4 separate regions of the Homo sapiens genome follow, and regions 1, 2 and 4 are each linked to region 3. Evidence: promoter capture Hi-C in human tissues and cell types (Jung and others, 2019). All regions are on one chromosome and are shown on one strand. The core of a region is centred on a gene start or on the middle of the fragment in contact, and the rest is flanking DNA. Distances in the headings are between cores, read along the strand shown. Region 1 has its middle 7.1 kb from the start of DPY30. Region 2 overlaps SPAST (spastin). Region 3 holds the start of NLRC4 (NLR family CARD domain containing 4). Region 4 overlaps BIRC6 (baculoviral IAP repeat containing 6).

Region 1 (2,700 bases), core at 95-2,594, 220 kb after region 3:
ATTAAAAAAAATTTTTTTGAGATAGAGTTTTTGCTCTGTTGCCCAGGCTAGAGTGCAGTGGTGCAATCTTGGCTCACTGCAACCTCTACCTCCTGGGTTCTAGCGATTCTCCTGCCTCAGCCTCCCGAGTAGCTGGGATTACAGGCGTGTGCCACCACGCCCAACTAATTTTTGTAGCTTAAGTAGAGACGGGGTTTCACCATGTTGGCCAGGCTCCTCTCGAACTGCTGACCTCCAGTGATCCGCCCACCTCAGCCTCCCAAAGTGCTGGGATTACAGGCATGAGCCACCATGCCCGGTCAGGTGGCATCACTATTAATCTCCATTTTACTGTCTGACTTTGTCTTTTTTTTTTTTTTTTTTTTTAAAGACATGGGATCTCACTATAGTGCTCAGGCTGGTCTCTAACTATTGGGCTTAAGCAATTCTCCCACCTTGGCCTCCCAAAGTGCTAGGGTTACAGAGGCATGAACCACTGTTCCTGGCCTCTGACTTTGTCTTTTAAAAGGGAAATGGTTTCAATTTAAATTAATATGGAATGGCTTTGGGCAACCTAAAATTAAGAGATATCAAAGTTATGTATTTTGCCTATCACTTAATAACCCATGACCTATTTATGAACATTAATTTAAGTGATAATAATTTGGATTGAAAAGGAAAGCATAAAATCAACACATTTAAAAACTGAAAATCACCGCCACTGTGGCATGCACCTATAGTCCCAGCTATTTGGGAAACTGAGGCAGGAGAATATCTTGAGGCCAGGAGTTGGAGGTTGCAGTGTTCTAAGATTGCTCCTGTGAATAGTCATTGCACTGCAGCCTGGACATCGTATGGAGAACCCATCTCTAAAAAGATAGAAAAAACATTTAAAAAATTAAGACTGAAAATTAGGACGTTTTAGGAAAAAATCTAAATATAGCCTCATACAAGAAGTGGCAGAAACAATTGGCAATTTAAGGATTTGAAATGTCAGTAAGGTTGCCTTTTCATTAATTCTTATTATCCTCTCTCTTTTTTTTTTTTTCCTTGAGATGTAGTCTTGCTCTGTTGCCCAGACTGGAATGCAGTGGCGCAATCTCGGCTCACTGCAACCTCCACCTCCCGGGTTCAAGTCATTCTCCTGCCTCAGCCTCCTTAGCAACTGGTATTACAGGTGTGTGCAGCCACACCCAGCCAATTTTTTTTTTGTATTTTTAGTAGAGACAGGGTTTCACCATGTTGGCCACGCTGGTCTGGAACTCCTGACCTCAAGTGATCCACCCACCTCGGCCTCCCAGAGAGATGGGATTACAGGTGTGAGCCACCGCGTCCAGTTTTATTATTCTTATCGTTGAGATCACTTGTGTATCATAAAAATCAAAGGAACACACTATATTCATGCCTTTCAAAAACCCATTTGGTATGTTCCTTGATATACCAAAATTTATTTATTTAATTTTTTTGAGATGGAGTCTTGCTCTGTCACCCAGGCTGGAGTGCAGTGGCACCATCTCACTCACTGCAAGCTCTGCCTCCCAGGTTCACGCCATTCTCCTGCCTCAGCCTCCTGAGTAGCTGGGACTACAGGTGCCCGCCACCACGCGTGGCTACTTTTTTTTTGTATTTTTAATAGAAACGGGTTTCACCATGTTAGCCAAGATGGTCTTGATCTCCTGATCTCGTGATCCGCCCACCTCCGCCTCCCAGAGTGCTGGGATTACAGGCATGAGCCACCGCGCCCGGCCATATATACCAAAATTTCTGAGATGGGTGGTAAGATTGCTTGGGCATGTTGTTTGGTAGTAGAGACAAGGGAGCTACAGGTAGAGTGGTTGCCTTCCAATATTAGCCACAAAGAGATATTTCTCTTATTTCTCTGGAAAGTGACTTACCTAACCTGGAACATATATTTCTAGGTCTTCTTGAGAGGTGGTTGGGTGTCCCTCCCCACACATTGTACTCAGAGGGCCCATTTACACTCAGTAAATTCTATGTATTTATTTGCAAATACATTTTTGTATGTGAGTGTTGGGGGGTGGGGTGGGGTAGGTGGGTGTGGGTGGGTGCTGGATCAAGTTCTTAATTTTTCTGAATAATTTCTTTCCTGCAAATTATTTTAAAACAACAAAGTAAAAAGCTAATGAAGGGCCGGGCATGGTGGCTTACAAAGTGCTGTAATCCCAGCACTTTGGGAGGCCGAGGTGGGTAAATCGCTTGAGGCCAGGAGTTTGAGATCAGTCCGGCCAACATGGGAAAACCCCCTCTCTACTAAAAATACAAAAATCAGCTGGGTGTGGTGGCATGCGCCTGTAGTCCCAGCTACTTGAGAGGCTGAGGAAGGAGAATCGATTGAACCTGGAAGGTGAAGGTTGCAGTGAGCCAAGTTTGCAAAACTGTATTCCAGCTTGGGCAACAGAGTGAGATCCTGTCTCAAAAATAAATAAATAAATGAATAAAATTAAAAAGCTAATGAAGTGGCTTGATAAGTAATGTAGATAAGACAAAATGAATTTCAATTACATTTGTGTAACTTCAGTTTACAAAGCAGTTTCATCTTTTTTTTTTTTTTCAAGACAGGGTCTTGCTGTGTTGCCCAGGCTAGAGTACAGTGGTGTGATCAGGACAGCCTAGACTCTTCCAAGCGATCCTCTCGCTTCCGCCCCTGAGTAGCTGGGACTACAATCGTGCACTACTATGTCCGCCCAATTTTTCATATTT
Region 2 (2,712 bases), core at 85-2,584, 180 kb after region 3:
CACTTTTCTTTCCTTTTTTTTTTTTTTTTTTTTTTTGACAGTGTCTCACTCTGTCGCCCAGGCTGGAGTGAAATGGTATGATCTCGGCTTACTGCAACCTCTGCCTCTCGGGTTCAAGCAATTTTCCTGCCTCAGCCTCCTGAGTAGCTGGGACTACAGGCACACGCTACCACGCCCAGCTAAGTTTTGTATTTTTAGTAGAGACGGGGTTTCACCATGTTGGCCAGGATGGTCTCGATCTCCTGACCTCGTCTACTTGAAGTGACTGTGAACTCTGAAAGTGGTGGAGAAAATAAGCAAAGCTTTCAGTGGACTCATGCAACTAAACAGACAAAAAATGAATTTCAGAGCATGCCCAGGAGAAGCTGTGGCAAAAGATTTTGGCTGGGACCCTGAATGAATGAACAGTTAAGAACTGAGCCACAGCCAGGCGTGGTGGCTCATGCCTATAATTCCAGCACTTTGGGAGGCTGAGGCAGGTGAATCACGAGGTCAGGAGATCAAGACCATTCTGGCTAATACAGTGAAGCCCCATCTCTACTGAAAACACACACAAAAAAACGCCAGGTGAGGTGGCTCACGCCTGTAATCCCAGCACTTTGGGAGGCTGAGGCGGGTGGATCATGAGATCAGGAGTTCGAGACCAGCCTGGCCAAGATGGTGAAACCCCATCTCTACTAAAAACAGAAAAATTAGCTAGGCGTGGTGGCGCACGCCTGTTGCCTCAGCTATTTGGGAGGCTGAGGCAGGAGAATCACTTGAACCCAGGAGGCGGAGGCTGCGGTGAGCCAAGATCGTGCCATTGCACTCCAGGCTGGGTGACAAGAGCGAAACTCTGTCTTGAAAAAAAAAAAAATTAGCCAGATGTGGTGGCACGTGCCTGTAGTCCTAGCTACTCTGGAGGCTGAGGCAGGAGAATCACTTGAAGCCAGGAGGCGGAGGTTGCAGCGAGCTGAGATCGTGCCATGGCACTGCAGCTTGGGCAACAGAGTGAGACTCCATCTCAAAAAAAAAAAAAAAAAAAAAAAAAAAAAGAACTGAGCCAGACCATACAAGAACTGAAACCCATATTCAAATTATTTCAATCCCTTAATGTAGGGGTTGGCAAACTACAGCCCATAACTTACACTGATTATCCTTTAGATACATTTATAGCAGAAAATCCAATCTTCCAATGGTCTCCAGTGCACAAAAGGCCTCCAAAATCCTTTAACATTAGCTCCCAACAGTCCCTAGTTTCTCATAGACATTTCTCTTTTAACTCTATGACCCCATATAACACTCAAATTCAACCAACCAGACTACATCAAATCAAGAAAGAATTTGGGTGGCAGAAACTTACAACCACTTGTAGTTTAAATTATTAGCCAATAGTGTAACTACATTATCTAATGCATGCCTTAGCAAACTATGGACTAAGATTAAATCTAGTAAGCTGCCTATTTTTGTACATAAAGTTTTACTGGGTCAATCTTACCATGTGACAGGGTTGAGTAGTTATGCTGCAGAGCTTAAAATGTTTACAAAATTGATAAACATAAAAACAACCCAATTAAAAAATGGGAAAAGAACATTAATAGACATTTTTCCAAAGAAGATACACAAATGGTACATAAGTACATGACAAAATGCTGAGCATCATAAGTCATTAGAAAAATACATGCAAATCAAAATCACAACGAGATACCACTTCATACCCTTTAGGATGACTATTATTTTAAAAAATGAAAAATAACAAATGTGGAGAAACTGGAACCCTTGTACACTGCTGGTGGGAATGCAAAATGGTGCAGCCCCTATGGAAAACAGGTTGGCAGTTCAAAAATTTAAACAGAAAGTTACCATATAATTCAGTAATTCTACTCCTAGGTATATATCCAAAAGTATTGAAAGCCGGGACTTAAACAGATATTTAGACCAATGTTCATAGCCACATTATTCACAATAGATGGAAACAATCCAAATATCCATTAATAAAAAACGTGGGCTGCACACAGTGGCTCATGCCGAGGCAAAAGTGGACTGACTGAGCCCAGGAGTTAGAGATGGTGAACCACATGGTGAAACCCTATCTCTACAAAAAGTACAAAAATTAGCCAGGCATGATGGTGCACACCTGTGGTCCCAGCTACTTGGGAGGCTGAGGTGGTAGGACTGCTTGAGTCCAGGAAGAGGAGGCTGCAGTGAGTTGATTGTGCTACTGCACTCTAGCCTGGGTGACAGAGCAAGACCCAATGTCAGAAAAAAAAAAAGCAGGGGTGGGGTGGCGGGTGTACATGAGTTGGAAAAAAACGAAAAAATACTTTTTTTTTTAGACTGGGTCTCGCTCTGTCACCCATGCTAGAGAGCAGTGGTATGATCTCACTGCAACCTCCGCCTCCTAGGCTTAAGCGATTCTCCCACCTCAGCCTCTTGAATAGCTGGGACCACAGGTGTGCACCACCACACCTGGTTAATTTTTTTCTAAAGACAGGGTCTCTCACTATATTGCCCAGGCTGGTCTTGAACTCCCGGGCTCAAGTGATACTCCCACTTAGCCTCCCAAAATGTTGCGATTACAGGCGTGAGCCACCGCACCCAGCCTAAAAACACAGTTCTAATCAGTGATATCCCCCTTTGCTTTACTATATTCCTCTATTAGCCACTTATGAGGTTTTGCAGATTGTAAAGACTAAGAGGTGGAGCATGGTGGTTCACACCTGTTCTCTCAAC
Region 3 (2,700 bases), core at 172-2,671:
ATAAATAAATAAATAAATAAATAAACAAATAAAATAAAAAATAAATAAGTTGATAAATAAAATTAGAATATACAGATAAGCCAAAGACAGAAATTTAAAATTGCTTATAATTGTATTCCCCAGCAATAAGCATCATTACTATTTTGGTGGCTGTCTTTGCAGTTTTTTCTCTTGAACATATGTTTATATATAGGTTTCATTACAATTTAAAAATCTAGCTGATAGTGTAGCCCTCAATCTCACTTCAGAGAAACCCACCTCACAAGTTGGGAAACACTGACACTGATGCCCCCTTAGAAAACCCAGGATGTAGACATTTATTTGCCGGGAAACTTTGGTATCCCTCTATGGCAGATAGGCTACTGTCAGAATGCTCTTTTTGAAATAAGAAGTTATGTAACACAAAGACATGTTCCTGGTAGTTTATGCAAAGACAGAGGAAAGAGTATGCAAGAATGTCATCCTCAAGGGAAGTGCAGAGAGATTTCTTCAGTCCTCAGCTGAGTATAAGCTGGCCTCCTGGAGTCTGTGAACACAAACGTCCAATGTGAGTGTGCCTGTGCAAGCCCCTGGCTGTTTATACTCCGGAGGGTGTCCCCGTGCGTCATCGGTGGAGTGGACCAAAACTGGTGATCTGTTTGCCCTGTGTGACCTTGCCCAGAACCCTGCTGACTGAGAGAACACATCTGCTGGAAGTCCTCTGGGATTCAAGGTACAGGGGTAAGCATGACCTTGAATGCAGTAGCAATGTGCTTTAGCCAACTAAGCTGGCTCATTTCATTTACCGCTCTATCTCCCATGGTTAAGCATTAAAAATACATGTTGTGGCTGGGCATGGTGGCTCACGCCTGTAATCCCAGCACTTTGGGAGGCTGAGGCTGGCAGATTGCCTGAGGTCAGGAGTTCGAGACCAGCCTGGCCAACATGGTGAAATTCTGTCTCTACTAAAAATACAAAAATTAGCCGGGCATGGTGGTGCACGCCTGTAGTCTTAGCTACTGGGAGGACTGAGGCGGGAGGAACGCTTGAACCCGGGAGGCAGAGGTTGCAGTGAGCTGAGATTGTGCCACTGCCCTCCAGCTTGGGTGACAGAACAAGACTCTGTCTCAAAAAAAAGAAAAAAGAAAGAAAAAGAAAAAAAATATATGTTGGATGTTCAGAAGACTTTGTTTCATTTTAAGGTATAGAATAAGTAACTCAACAGCAATGAATTCATATGTTGTGAACAAACAGGAAACAAATGAGTAATTCCTTTCTTGACGGAATTTCTAGCTCTTGCATCTTTTACTCTGAAGTTCTACTTCTTCCCCGGCTACTCCTGCCTACACCCATCTTCCCTTTCTGAACTGGTAGTACTTGTGTCCAAACCACTCTTACTGTGCTTTGAAAAAAAAAAAAGGAACTGCTCAGCAGTTCCCCTCTCTGTACACTGTCCTCTCACAGAACAAGAAGGTATCTGGTCTACAAGAACTCGAGGCCTCACTGAAACGGAAAGCAAATACAAAGAAACTTTATTTTAAAAACATGTCTTGGTCTCCCAAGAAGAGGGCAATTGGATTGCTCAGCCAGGTACTGTGGGTAGAGAGAATGGGATTTTTAAGGTCTGGGGCCCAAATATTAAAATCTGGGTTTACATTCATTTAAAGCTTGTGTCTGGGATGTACAAAAGCCTTAACATTGACGAGTGTGATTTGCATGCCTGGCTGGATTTGCCTGCCGAGAAACCTTTAGGGGTGGTTAATCGGGTCTGCTGGGGCTTCATCAGGTTCAAGGGGTACATGTACCCCTTGGACTACTGTGAGATGGAAAGGACTTTGGAAACACTTTTTGGCATTACAGAAAGGAAACTCACTCTTTTTTTTTTTTTTTTTTTGAGACAGAGTCTTGCTCTGTCACCCAGGCTGGACTGCAGTGGCGTGATCTCGGCTCACTGCAACCTCTGCCTCCTGGGTTCAAGCAATTCTCCTGCCTCAGCCTCCCAAGTAGCTGGGATTACAGGCACCCGGCACCGCGCCCCAGCTAATTTTTGTATTTTTAGTAGAGACAGGGTTTCACCATGTTGGCCAGACTGGTCTCAACTCCTGACCTCGTGATCTGCCCACCTCAGCCTCCCAAAGTGCTGGGATTACAGGTGTGAGCCAACGTGCCCGGCCAGGAAACTCACTCTTGTTGCTAAGACTGTTGTTAGAATCACAGATGATCAAAGCTGAAAGGAACGAGGTGGACTACTTAGTCCATCCAATCTCCCAAGTTACTGATGAGAAACCTGATATTTGGAGACAGAAGTGAAGGAAATCACCCTTTACGGGACACCTATTTCGTGATAGGGTCTTTATGTACATTATCTCAGTAGATCCTTGCAGCCTGGCTTTGAGAGGTGGAAAATGTGGTAGAGAGGAGTTAAATGTCCTGCCCTACATCACACTGCTAATTGTCTACAAAACTAGGATAGAACCTGGTCAGCACACTTCTTAACTGTTCACACACTTTTATAATATTAGTCGTATTAATGTGTTTAAAATACCATAGACTGGGTGGCTTAAACAACAGAAATTTATATTCCCACAGTTCTGGAGGCTGCAAGTCCAAGACCAAGGTGTCAGCAGGGTTGGCTTCTCCCCACGCCTCCCTCCTTGGCCTTTTCTCTCTGTATGCACATTCCTGGTATCTCCCTTTGTGTGTCCCGATTTCCTCTTCTCA
Region 4 (2,700 bases), core at 127-2,626, 250 kb before region 3:
CAAATTGTTATTCACTTCATCAAAAACAATTGCAATCTATGTTTAAATGTAATCCATAATTTTAATAATTTATAAAGATATTAATAAAACATCAAATGACTTCATTTTAAACATAATTAATCAAAATATTAAAAAGTAACATAAATCAGGAAGAAATCTCTCTGTTTTTCTAATATGGATGCTACACATAAAAACAGAGAATGCCAAATATTTGCTCAAAAATTTATCAACAAAAATATGTTTCAAAACTACTTCAAGTTGGCCGGGTGCGGTGGCTCATGCCTGTAATCCCAGCACTTGGGAGGCCTGAGGTGGGCGGATCATGAGGTCAGGAGATTGAGACCATCCTGACTAACACGGTAAAGCCCCGTCTCTACTAAAAATACAAAAAAAAAAAAAAAAAAAAAAAAAAATTAGTCAGTTATAGTGGTGGTCGCCTGTAGACCCAGCTACTCAGGAGGCTGAGGCAGAAGAATGGCATGAACCCAGAAGGTGGAGCTTGCAGTGAGCCAAGATTGCACCACTGCGCTCCAGCCTGGGCAACAGAGCAAGACTCCATCTCAAAACAAAACAAACAAAAATTCAAGTTGGTATCAATTTGGAAGTAGAAGACATCAAGGTAGAATGACATTAGGACAACTCATTAAAATTACCTAAATGTAAAAAAAAAAAAAAAAAAAAAAAAAAAGAAAAGAAAAGAAAAAAATCACTAAATATTTAGCCAATGTGTTCAAATGTCATTTACATGTTATGATATTGTTTCATTCTGTAAACAGCAGGAAAGGGTGCAGAAAGTCATGAAAAGATTTCGATGAATACGATAATCAATAATAAATAAACAGAACCATTATAAAAACAGTTGAAGTACCAACTACAGACACAATATCCCTACATTCATATACACATATAAAGTACTACCTAAGACAGTATGACTCTGATACCATCACTTTACAAGGTTCCTTTCACACGTAGCCAACTTAAAAATATATGTTTTATTCCATTCCTCAAAAGCAGTATTAACAAAGAATTCTATTTAAGTTCAAATTTGCTTAAAGTATGTCCAAACACATACAAATGTATGTCTAATGTTCATGAATACTTGCAGAAGTTACATCGTGTGAGGCATATGGTAAACATACAATATATCACAGTATTGTCTTTTATGAGATCATCTAAGGAAAAACTGTCAGAAACATTTACTATAGCATGATTATGTGCATGTGTGTGCTTAATTAAATGAAAAATAAAATCGTACCTGTCTTTTGTACCAGGATCCTGAGTTGTTCCAAGCTGGTAAAGAATATCTATCGTAGAGTCAGAAGAGAGTCCATTTAGTCTTCCAAAAAGTAAAGGACTATTCAAATCTTGCAACAAAGAATCCAAAGAAAAAGTTTGCTAAATAAGCAAGTTAACCATGGGAAGATTTACTTAATTGAATTAAGTTATTCATTAAAAATGAGGCTTCCATAAATTCCAACAACACAGAACAAACTCTAAAAATAATGAAACTAGGCTGGGTGCAGTGGTTCACACGTGTAATCCCAGCACTCTGGGAGGCCAAGGTGGGTGGATCACCTGAGGTCAGGAGTTCAAAACCAGCCTGATCAATATGGAGAAACCCCATCTCTACTAAAAATACAAAAATTAGCCGGGTGTGGTGGCAGATGCCTGTAATCCCAGCTACTAGGGAGGTGGAGGTTGTAGTGAGCCAAGATTGCGCCACTGCACTCCAGCCTGGGCAACAGAGTGAGACTCCATCAGAGAAGAGAGGAGAGATAAACATAAACTAAAAGAAAAAATAATTCCCAAAACAGAGTTAAGCACGAAGATCGCACAGTTCAACTGCTGTTACTTTACAGATATGTAAACATTTAAATATCAAAGTTAATTATCACCTGTAGGATCACTGCCTGATGCTGCACAATTTCTCAGGAGAATGTCTATGAGCTTCAGGCCAATTCTAGTAGACTGCAGTCCTATCTTTACAAGCACAACCTCGATGTTGGGTGAATGCATTCCACAGTAAGGTGACATCAATAAGGCCGCACAAGTCTGCAGCAGATTAGCAGTAGGTGCAGCTGCACTTGCCATCATTCCTTCTAGATCACTTATGTGAGTAAGGCAATGATGTAATAACCGTAACCATCCAATACTGAAAATACAAAATGACTTGTATGATCAATATAAGTCGCTCAAATCACTTCGGGGTAGAACATAACTTTTTAAAGATCAGCATGTTGTGTTTCATAAACAGCATTAACCAATCTAAGACATGTTTTTTTAGAATGCTGCAAATTAAGTAAACAGACAGTAAGTTTCCCCTATAAGATAAATCATGGCCAGGCACGGTGGCTAACACCTGTAATCTCAGCACTTTGGGAGGCCGAGGCAGGTGGATGACAAGGTCAGGAGTTCGAGACCATCCTGGCCAACTTGGTGAAACCCCTTATCTACTAAAAATACAAAGATTAGTTGGGCATGGTGGTGGGCGCCTGTAATCCCAGCTACTTGGGAAGGTGGGGCAGGAGAATCATTTGAACTCGGGAGGCAGAAGTTGCAGTGAGTCTAGACTGCACCACTGCACTCCATCCTGGGCGACAGGGTGAGACTCTGTCTCAAAACAAACAGAAAGATAAATCACATACAAAAGTACTTGTATTCATAGCACTTAGACACCATGGGTTTGCTTTTTTAGGCAAT

The links. The method cuts DNA at HindIII sites, captures the fragments that hold promoters and counts their contacts. A contact is called where the count stands out against the background at its distance.
Region 1: a contact is called between a fragment that was not itself captured here and the fragment with the promoter of NLRC4 in region 3, in 1 of the 25 tissues and cell types used here (liver).
Region 2: a contact is called between a fragment that was not itself captured here and the fragment with the promoter of NLRC4 in region 3, in 1 of the 25 tissues and cell types used here (H1 embryonic stem cells).
Region 4: a contact is called between a fragment that was not itself captured here and the fragment with the promoter of NLRC4 in region 3, in 2 of the 25 tissues and cell types used here (liver and pancreas).

What each region holds. Positions count from the first base shown.
Region 1 is chr2:32,045,560-32,048,259 of GRCh38, reverse strand. No RefSeq gene overlaps it. Among named protein-coding and RNA genes, the nearest start is that of DPY30, 7.1 kb to the right of the region's middle. The HindIII fragment of the contact is 6,568 bases long and covers 1-2,700 here.
Region 2 is chr2:32,079,106-32,081,817 of GRCh38, reverse strand. All of the region lies in intron 1 of SPAST (spastin), which reads right to left. Among named protein-coding and RNA genes, the nearest start is that of SPAST, 17 kb to the right of the region's middle. The HindIII fragment of the contact is 7,479 bases long and covers 1-2,712 here.
Region 3 is chr2:32,263,607-32,266,306 of GRCh38, reverse strand. NLRC4 (NLR family CARD domain containing 4) reads left to right here and starts at 1,421. Exons shown (of 9, transcript NM_001199138.2): 1 at 1,421-1,569. The HindIII fragment of the contact is 13,663 bases long and covers 1-2,700 here.
Region 4 is chr2:32,509,190-32,511,889 of GRCh38, reverse strand. BIRC6 (baculoviral IAP repeat containing 6) reads right to left here. Exons shown (of 74, transcript NM_016252.4): 52 at 1,896-2,152; 53 at 1,256-1,364. Among named protein-coding and RNA genes, the nearest start is that of MIR558, 22 kb to the left of the region's middle. The HindIII fragment of the contact is 3,511 bases long and covers 1-2,700 here.